3 separate regions of the Homo sapiens genome follow, and regions 1 and 2 are each linked to region 3. The links are contacts of gene promoters, found by promoter capture Hi-C in blood cells and fetal thymus (Javierre and others, 2016). All regions are on one chromosome and are shown on one strand. The core of a region is centred on a gene start or on the middle of the fragment in contact, and the rest is flanking DNA. Distances in the headings are between cores, read along the strand shown.

Evidence for each region. The method cuts DNA at HindIII sites, captures the fragments that hold promoters and counts their contacts. A CHiCAGO score of 5 or more calls a contact.
Region 1: a contact is called between a fragment that was not itself captured here and the fragment with the promoter of KPLCE in region 3, in 4 of 17 cell types (M0 macrophages, megakaryocytes, erythroblasts and 1 more). The highest score is 6.4, in M0 macrophages.
Region 2: a fragment that was not itself captured here is called in contact with the fragment with the promoter of KPLCE in region 3 in 4 of 17 cell types (M0 macrophages, endothelial precursors, M2 macrophages and 1 more); the score reaches 8.6 in M0 macrophages.

What each region holds. Positions count from the first base shown.
Region 1 is chr1:153,228,176-153,230,875 of GRCh38, reverse strand. No RefSeq gene overlaps it. Among named protein-coding and RNA genes, the nearest start is that of PRR9, 12 kb to the right of the region's middle. The HindIII fragment of the contact is 1,275 bases long and covers 662-1,936 here.
Region 2 is chr1:153,170,966-153,173,665 of GRCh38, reverse strand. It overlaps a transcript of SPRR2G not described here. Among named protein-coding and RNA genes, the nearest start is that of SPRR2G, 21 kb to the right of the region's middle. The HindIII fragment of the contact is 3,626 bases long and covers 1-2,700 here.
Region 3 is chr1:152,718,225-152,720,924 of GRCh38, reverse strand. It overlaps KPLCE (KPRP N-terminal and LCE C-terminal like protein), which reads right to left and starts at 1,403. Exons shown (of 1, transcript NM_001024679.3): 1 at 455-1,403. The coding sequence starts at 1,403. The coding sequence ends at 651. The HindIII fragment of the contact is 5,275 bases long and covers 1-2,700 here.

The sequences.
Region 1 (2,700 bases), core at 50-2,549, 510 kb before region 3:
CTCCTAGTCCTCACCTCTCTGCATCCACCTAGTGGCCTAAGCCATAAACTTGGGAGTATTTCTGCCTTCTTTCTCCTCCTTTACCCCACACATTGAGTCCCCCTGCTACTCCTGTTAGTTATTCCTCCAAAACACTTAGCGTCACCCTCTTGTCTTTGTCTCCACTGCTGCCATCTACCACCTTTAGCCATAACTCTAGTAGCAGGTCCTTCCTCTCCCTATTTCATGCTTCCTCCAACATCCAGCCTTTATACATTTTGCAGATGGAATAATCTTTTGAAGCTTTGAATCAAATAAAAAGCCTCTACTGAGACCCCTTCGGGGTCTTCCCGATGCATTTTGAAAAACATCTGAACAGTATATACATGTTGTCTGAGGTTTGATGGGATACATGCTCAGGCAGGTGTGTGTTTATGCCTGTGAACAAACCTAAACAGATGCAGGTGCATATTCACCCTGGCCACAATGTGCCCACCCCAAGATAGCCCTATTGTTTAGGGTCTGGGACCCATCAGTGTCTGGCATCATGCTTGGCATTAGGTGCTCAGCAGGAGCTCAGTGAATGGATAAATGAGCTTTTGGTGTCCTCTAAGTGTAAACTCCACAAAAACAGCACTTTTGGTCTGTTTACTGCTACATCTCCAGCACCTAAAGGAAAGCTTGGCATACAGTAGCTACTCAACAAAGATTTGTTGAATGAAAAAATAAATGAATGAGAACACAATGAGTAATCTACAGATAGGCTTTGTCATTCTGGCTATTTAGGAATCAAAGGTAATGTGTTCAGTGACACTTTTGTCAGTCAATTCACATTCAAGAAAATGTTCCCTCAGATTTCCTCTCACCTCCAGCACGCTGCCATTGCCACCATCATGTAACCCATCATTTCTGTTGCTCTCACCTCAGATCGGCCTTTCCACATTACCCGAGCTAAAGAGCACCCCTCTTCCCTGGTCATTTTGTTTCATTTTCTTCAATTTCTTATTTATGCATTTGCTGAGTTGCTTTTTGTCTGTCTTCCTCCTCATGTGAGCTCTGGGAGGCAGGGATTCTGTGTATCTGGTTCGCTGCTGTAACTCCAGTGCTTGGCTCATAGGAGATTCTGTGTCACTTACTCTCACATAGGAGAAATTTGTTTTAAGGGAACAATAGAAGTGGTGGAGTCTAGATTTGAATTCCAGAAGTCTGATTCCTGAGCCTATGTCCTGAACCATTATTCGTGTTGCTCCCACCCTATAAGTAATGTAACTCTGTCTTGCACATATAGCCTTCCTCTGACTCTGTTAGATGCTGCATCTCTGTACTCTTGTCTTCTCCACATGGAGCATTGACTGGACCCGAGTGTGTGCGGCCATCTCCAACTCAGGCCAGACTGGGTGTGATTAGTAGAAGGCCAAGTGCCTCTATGGCCAGCAGGTGGTGCTGTTGGGAAGAGAAGAGAAAAGGGGTCCCCAGCGGCTTCTAAAGGAGGGAGGACTGGTTATGAGGCTGGCTTGGGAACCGGGTGATGAGGGAGGTTGAGTTGAGAAGGCCCTGCCAGCTGACCACCTCTTTTCTTTCAACCATGAATGGCGGTGGTGGCCCCCACGATACCACAGTCACCACCATCACCCCTGACCGACAACTCCAGAACACCAAGCTCCCCTCTGAGCTGGCCCTACAGGGCGAGTGGCCAGACTCTCACATGCTCGTCAGTTGAGACAGGGTCTCAAGGATGTAACCCAAACTATACATTCATTTAGTGTAAAGGTTATTCCTTCATGCATTATCCCCTGGATAGGCGACCTTAGGGGATGCCTCTCACTCCCTACCCTAGTTTTTGATGAACTCCTAAGCCATAGATTCAGTTTTAGAGATAAGTATAATAGTCCTTAAAGTATGATATTAAACATGACAGAGAGTGTGTCATCAAAGGTATTTCCCCTGGGTTAAAGCTTGTATTTTTAAACCAAGAATATGGGCATTGGAATCAGATGAGCTGGGTTTCAGCTCTGGCATTGATACTTACTGGCCGGATAATCTTGGTCAAGCTGTTAAACCTTTTGGGTCCTCAGATCATTTATCATTCATTCACTCACTTATTCCCATGTACCAGGATCTAATGGCAAACCACTGTGCCTTAGAAGAAGAGAAGTGAGTGGGAAGAGGTTCCAGTATTTGAGCAATCCCTGGGTGACCAGCCTGGCTGGACCCTCCCACCCCCATGCCTGCTCTCCATGTTGTCACTCAGTGTGGGCACTTCCTGATCCTCAGTGGCATTCAGCATTTTGCACACTCTCTCCTTCCTGACTTTTCTCTTAAATCATTGACTCCTTCTTAATCTTTTGCCAAGGGCTCTCTCTCTTCTCAACCTTTAGCTGTTGAGGTTTCTCAGGGCATGGTCTTAAGTTCCCTTCTTTTCTTAATCTATATTCTGTCACTGGATGATCTATACACCCCAAAGCTAGAATGCTACCCCTACGATGATGGCTCCCAAGTGTAGATCTCCATTCCTGAATTTTTCCCGCGCTCCTGACTCATAGATGTAAGTGCTTACTTTGTATTTCTGCTTGGTTATTCTGTATGCGTCTCAAAATTGACAGGTTCAAAACTGAGCCCCTGGTCTTCTTACCTGGACTGCACCCAAACCTGTTCCTCCTTCAGTCTTTCCCAGCTGCTTCTGGAAATGGTGGCTGCTGCTGCACAGAGACTTGGCTATAG
Region 2 (2,700 bases), core at 101-2,600, 450 kb before region 3:
AAGTCACTGGGAAGCACATTTCAGTCCAACCAAGGAAATAGTTTCTAAGTAAGTTCATTAATAATAAATCTGGTTGCCTCCCTTGTACAGAGCACTCTATTGTGGACAGACTTCAAGCAGAGGCTGAAAGACCATCAGGAGGTATTTTAGAGCAGATTTCCATTCAATATGTGCTTCTGATCCCATGATTCCTTTTCTTATCTGAGATTTTTTTTTCTGTTTGACTTCCCTTTAGAGCCTCCATCATTTCCCTCTATTTATTTCCCTCTCTCTGTAGGACAACCTCCATATTTATTTCCCTCTGTCTGTAGGACAACTTCACTCTTTCTTATTGTCCAAACCACAGGCTCTGAAAGAGCAGCCAGGGAGTAATCGAATATCACAAGCCTGGGGGTTCTGGAAGTGTTAGCCATGTTCTGTCCCAAGGCCTTCACTCAAATTCTCAGGTCTGTGTCCTCATTTGAAGACTGTTCTTTGTGGTTTCTGAATAGCTGGGATTTGACTTCAATTTAAGTGAAGTAAGCCCTCTTGGGGTTGTAGAAAGAACGTGAGATAGGATGTGAACATGTGGATGCTAGCTTTACTGACATTAACCAGCTGTGCTGTCTGAGTGAAGTTCCTCAGTATCTCCATGACTTTATTTCTTCATCTCTAATATTGAAGACTTGTAAGAGTTCCAAAGTTAATTCTAGAATTATATTATGTTTGTCCGCCTGTCTATTTATGCACTTAACTATCCTAATTCTTTAAAACCCCACCTTGAAAAAAGTGGTCACTGTCAGTCCAACCATACAATCTTCTTCCGGCCCAGATGAAGGCTAGCCCAAGCCCTAATGGAACTCTTCTCTCCTTTTAGGGATAATCCCAGTAGCTGTCTCTTCTTCAACTTCCTGCTTCAGAGGATTAAGGTGGCATAAAAAGTAATCTTGTACCTTTGATCCCAAGCACAGTCAAACTTTTGGAAAACAAAAGGGTTTGCCCCAGTTTTCCGTTTTTTGGGTGCCTCATTCCAGTTACTAATGTGATGTGTCTAACTCTTTTTTTGTACCGGAAACTCCAGTTTTGCAGGTATTGAGTGACTAGCAAGGTTTCCATCTCCTGAGGAAGGGTAGCCTGGGAGAAAGAGGACACAGAAGCCCTTTCCCACAGTATCTCTGGGGTCTCTGTGGGGGCAGCCAAAGGAAAGGTGCAATGAGGTGCATTGGGGGCAGGACTCTTGAGTGGGGGAAGGATGTGTGCAAGGACTGGTAGGTGGTAGGTTAGTGATAGAAGACTTGAACTTATGTTGTAATGCTACAGCAAAAGTCAACCGCATGAGACCAGACCACGTATTGTGATAGGTGCCACCAGGAAAGAACTCTGTGGAATTGATAGATAAAAAGGTTCATTAGAAAAAACTAAATGGGACAGTCTGGAGAAGTAGACCTGGTCTTCTGAGCATGAGAGTTATAATTTAAGGATAGTTTTTTCAGTCAGGGAGTGTTGATAGACCCTGGAAGGTGAGAGGTGAAGTAGAGTGGAAGCCAATTCCTGGTCCTCTCATGGGACATGGCTTGACTGTCACTTGTCTCATGTATTCAGGAGGATGCTGGATACCTGAAGCTGTAGGTCGCTCCAATTTCAATGGAGGATTAAAGTTGAGTGTAAAAGGAAATTGGTAAACCAAAGAAGAAGGTCTGAACAAGTCCTTAGTACATGGCCAAAGGACAGACGTAGATACTGATAGCTGGAGTACAGGGCTGGGGATTCGGGGGGCATGGGAGGGGAGGGCAGAAGCATTGGGCAGAGCTCAAGAGGGGAATTGTGGTCTTTGGGTAATGTTAGACATCCACTAATTTCACTGGTTGATGTGTTTGCTTTGTTGTATTATTTGGTAGGGAAAACTGTGCTTATGGAACCATACCTGGGCAAAAAAAGAGACTTCACTATCTGTGCCAGGGAGATGGGACCACCATCTGTTGGCAGCTGTGAAGTTGAGAGGTGGCTGTTCACCAGAGATGAATACACAGGGTTTCCAGTCAACTTTCAGCATTTTGGTGCATGATACCCAAGCCCTAGCCAGTGGAAAAAGTGAGCAATTATCTGCTGAAGAAATGTCCGTAGTGGTGAGTGGTGGTAGGCTGGGTGGAGGAAAAGCGGTGGCATGTGCAGTGGAGATTCAGGTACTGAAAGGGTATATGGTGTGATCACACAAGTCCGTATAACCCAAATTCTCAAATGTCAGTCTGATGAATGAATACAGGGAAGCATTCCTGGGGAGGCGAGTGGGTGTAAAGGCTCCTGTAGTCCAAGAATCTTGAATGTTTATATGCAATCCATTAGCTCAATAGTAGCTGTAATTGTTATTTACTCTCTTTTTGAGTTTTAGTGTTTGTGTGTGGTAAGACACACCTGTGTTTCAAGTAGTCCCAGGACGGCCGGGAAAAGGGTGGAGGAAGGAAGGGTGTTTACCTGCTCATATTCAGAGAAACTAATTGCCTGGGAAAATTTAGGCTAAACCAATGAAGATGAGAGAGTTTCAACATTTCAGTCATACTGGCATTTAAGGCAGGTGTGAACAAATAAACACTAGTGACAAGAACAGCCTTGCCAAGCAAAGTACTCTTCCGTGAAAAGAGGGAGGATTGACCCTCCCATGTGATGTCACTGCCAAGGCCAAAGAGGGTGGAATGAGCTGATCGTGGATCCTGGATCTTCTAG
Region 3 (2,700 bases), core at 154-2,653:
CCTGTCAGATGAGAAAATGTAATTCATAAAGTCCTGCATGGGTTCAAGCCCTCTGCACAGTGGTGGAGACATGGTCCAGTGATACTGACCATGACCAGTGATACTGGTCCATGAGCAGATACAATTTCACAATCTCTCCAACACCCAGGAAGATGAGGGTCTCATCATGGTCAACCCTGCTCTGAGGCTCATCAAAGGGCAGCACAGAAACAGCCCCAACCCTCAAATCTCCATTTTCAGATGCTTCTAACTTGCGTGGGAAAGTTTATTCACAGCATTCTAGAAGGCATGGGGCTCCCAGGCTGGGATTTCACCAGCTCAGTCTGCTTGTTCATGTTCGTGCAGATCTTTCCTCTAGCTGAGAAACAAGAGTAAGAAGAGAGGGATGCAGAAGAGTGCCTGATAGAAAAGCATAAATATGGACCAAACAAACAGACAGAAATTACCACGAAATGCATTCAGAGCTTTATTCATGCCAAAGTTTGGGGACTGTACTAACTCTGGCAGGCTGCCTTGGTAGAGAAGCAAAGCACAGAGGCAAAGTGATGAGGTTCTACATCACTGGCACTAACAGAGAGGGGGCCAGAAGCTGGTGCATGTTCCAGAAGGGGTAGCGGGGCAGTGCATTCTGGAGTTGAGCTGTCGTATGTTTAGCAGCAGCAGTCATCCTCATGGTCACAGCATGCAGGACCTCGGGACCTCATGGGGATAATTCCCAAACAGCAGCACCCAGAGCTGCCACATCCACAGCTGCAGCCACAGCCCCCAGAACCACAGCATCCAGAGCTTCCCGAATTCTCACAGCAGCCAGATGATCCTGTGTTGCAGTTCTGGGGCCGCTGAATCCAGCGTCTCAGGGGACTCACCCCGAAGGTCCGGGGAGCCAGACAGCAGTAGCTGGTGGAACAGGGAGCAGAGCATGGGTCAGTGACACAGTACTGGGAGGTTGAGCCACTTGCAGGAGCTTGAACATAATAGCTCTGGCAAGGAGAAGCACCCTGGACATAGCACGTCTGGGTCTGGCAGGGAGCTGGACTTTTGATGTAGGTCATCTGGCAGGGAGCTGGGCACTTCACGTAGGTTTGGCAGGGAGTTGGGCATTTTACATAGGTTGTCTGGCAGGGAGCTGGGCACTTCACATAGGTTTGGCAGGGTGTTGGGTATTTCACATAGGTCCTCTGGCAGGGAGCTGGGCACTTCACGTAGGTTTGAGTCTGGCATGGAACTTGGTACTTCACATAAGTTTGAGTAGGGCATGGAGCAGGGCCTGTCACACAGACAGTTTGGGTCTGGCATGGAACTGGGCATTTCACAGAGGCACCATTGCTACCCTGCCCAGCCCCTAGTCCCGAACCTTTCACACAAGATGGAGGGAACTGTGGCTGCTTCTGCTGGTCACACATTGTTCTGTGGCTTTGCAAAATCTGAAAAGAAAGGTTTCATTAGAACTGTAAAACCAGGAAGGTTTCTAGGGGAAACCTTCAACATCCCCTTTGAATACAGTGATTTGCAAGCAAGGCTTTCTTGAGAAGGTTGCAGACATCCAGAGGCTGTATACTTGGCAGGAGGTGGATTCAGAGCCAGGGACTCTCAGCTCAGCTTCTGTGCCTGTACCTGGCTATGTGGCTTGGTACAAGTCATCGCTTACCTCTGGGCCTCAGTCTCTATATTGGGAAATGGAGGCTTGAAATGGTGCTGCCTGTGTTTCTACCCAACTCTCCAAGCCTCCTCTCCTCTTTCTTCAGTGTCTGCATTGTGAATTACCCTTTGGAAATTGCTGCTCCCAGATGATTGACCCCTGCCACCAGTTCTCTCCAGGGTGACTTCCCTTCTTCCTTCTGCCCAGACAAGGAATACCCAGCAAAGACAAATTTATGTCCATGGACCCTGAGCCAACATGAGCCTCAAGCTGTGCCCGGTACTGAGCAAAGAACAAGGCTAAATTTGAGCAGGTTTCTACCAGGTGCTCCTTGAACCAGCTGGACTAATCAGTTGGCCTCATTAGCACATAGACCCAAGAGAGGACTGCACAATTGCATTCAGATAAGGGGATGGGGAGCCAGTTCTCTAAAGTCCCTTCTTAAACAGGAATGCCAGCTCATCGTGTCCCCCTCCCTCTCCTCTCATGCCCCAGGCTCCAAGTTTCCCACCAGCATTGCTTTCAGCCTCCTTCAGCAGATTTCCTAAGCATCTAGTCCTCGCTCACCCTTCATCCCACAGCTCTCATCCCACCCCAGCTTCCCCAAAGCTCTGTTTCTCACCATGTCCTTATCCCGTATAGAGACTTACCCTCTTTGCTGATAGGAGCAAGACTGGAAGAAGTCAGTGATCTGAAAAACTAGCAGGTGGGGAGACCTTTTATAGGGCAGCAATGAGGCAATTTAATGGCATCTAAATGAAGCACCAGAGATCACAAGGAGAAGGGATGGTGTTGCATTGGCAAGATTCCTCCCCAGTATGCCTGGCTCCTCAGTCAGAGGCAGGGCATGTCTGTGCTTGACATTGGGTTTTCCCAAACACTAGATAAATGATTCCTGTTCCCTTCCTCAGGAAACAAGTCAGTCTCCTTTTCCTATAAGTTATGAGTGATGCCTATGTGATCTGTCTCTAATGAAGCTGTTTCCAGGTCACTTGAGTCTTCAGGACTTATCCAAGTTATAGTTAGATTCTCAATTTTTCATACACTGTGCCAAAAGCTAA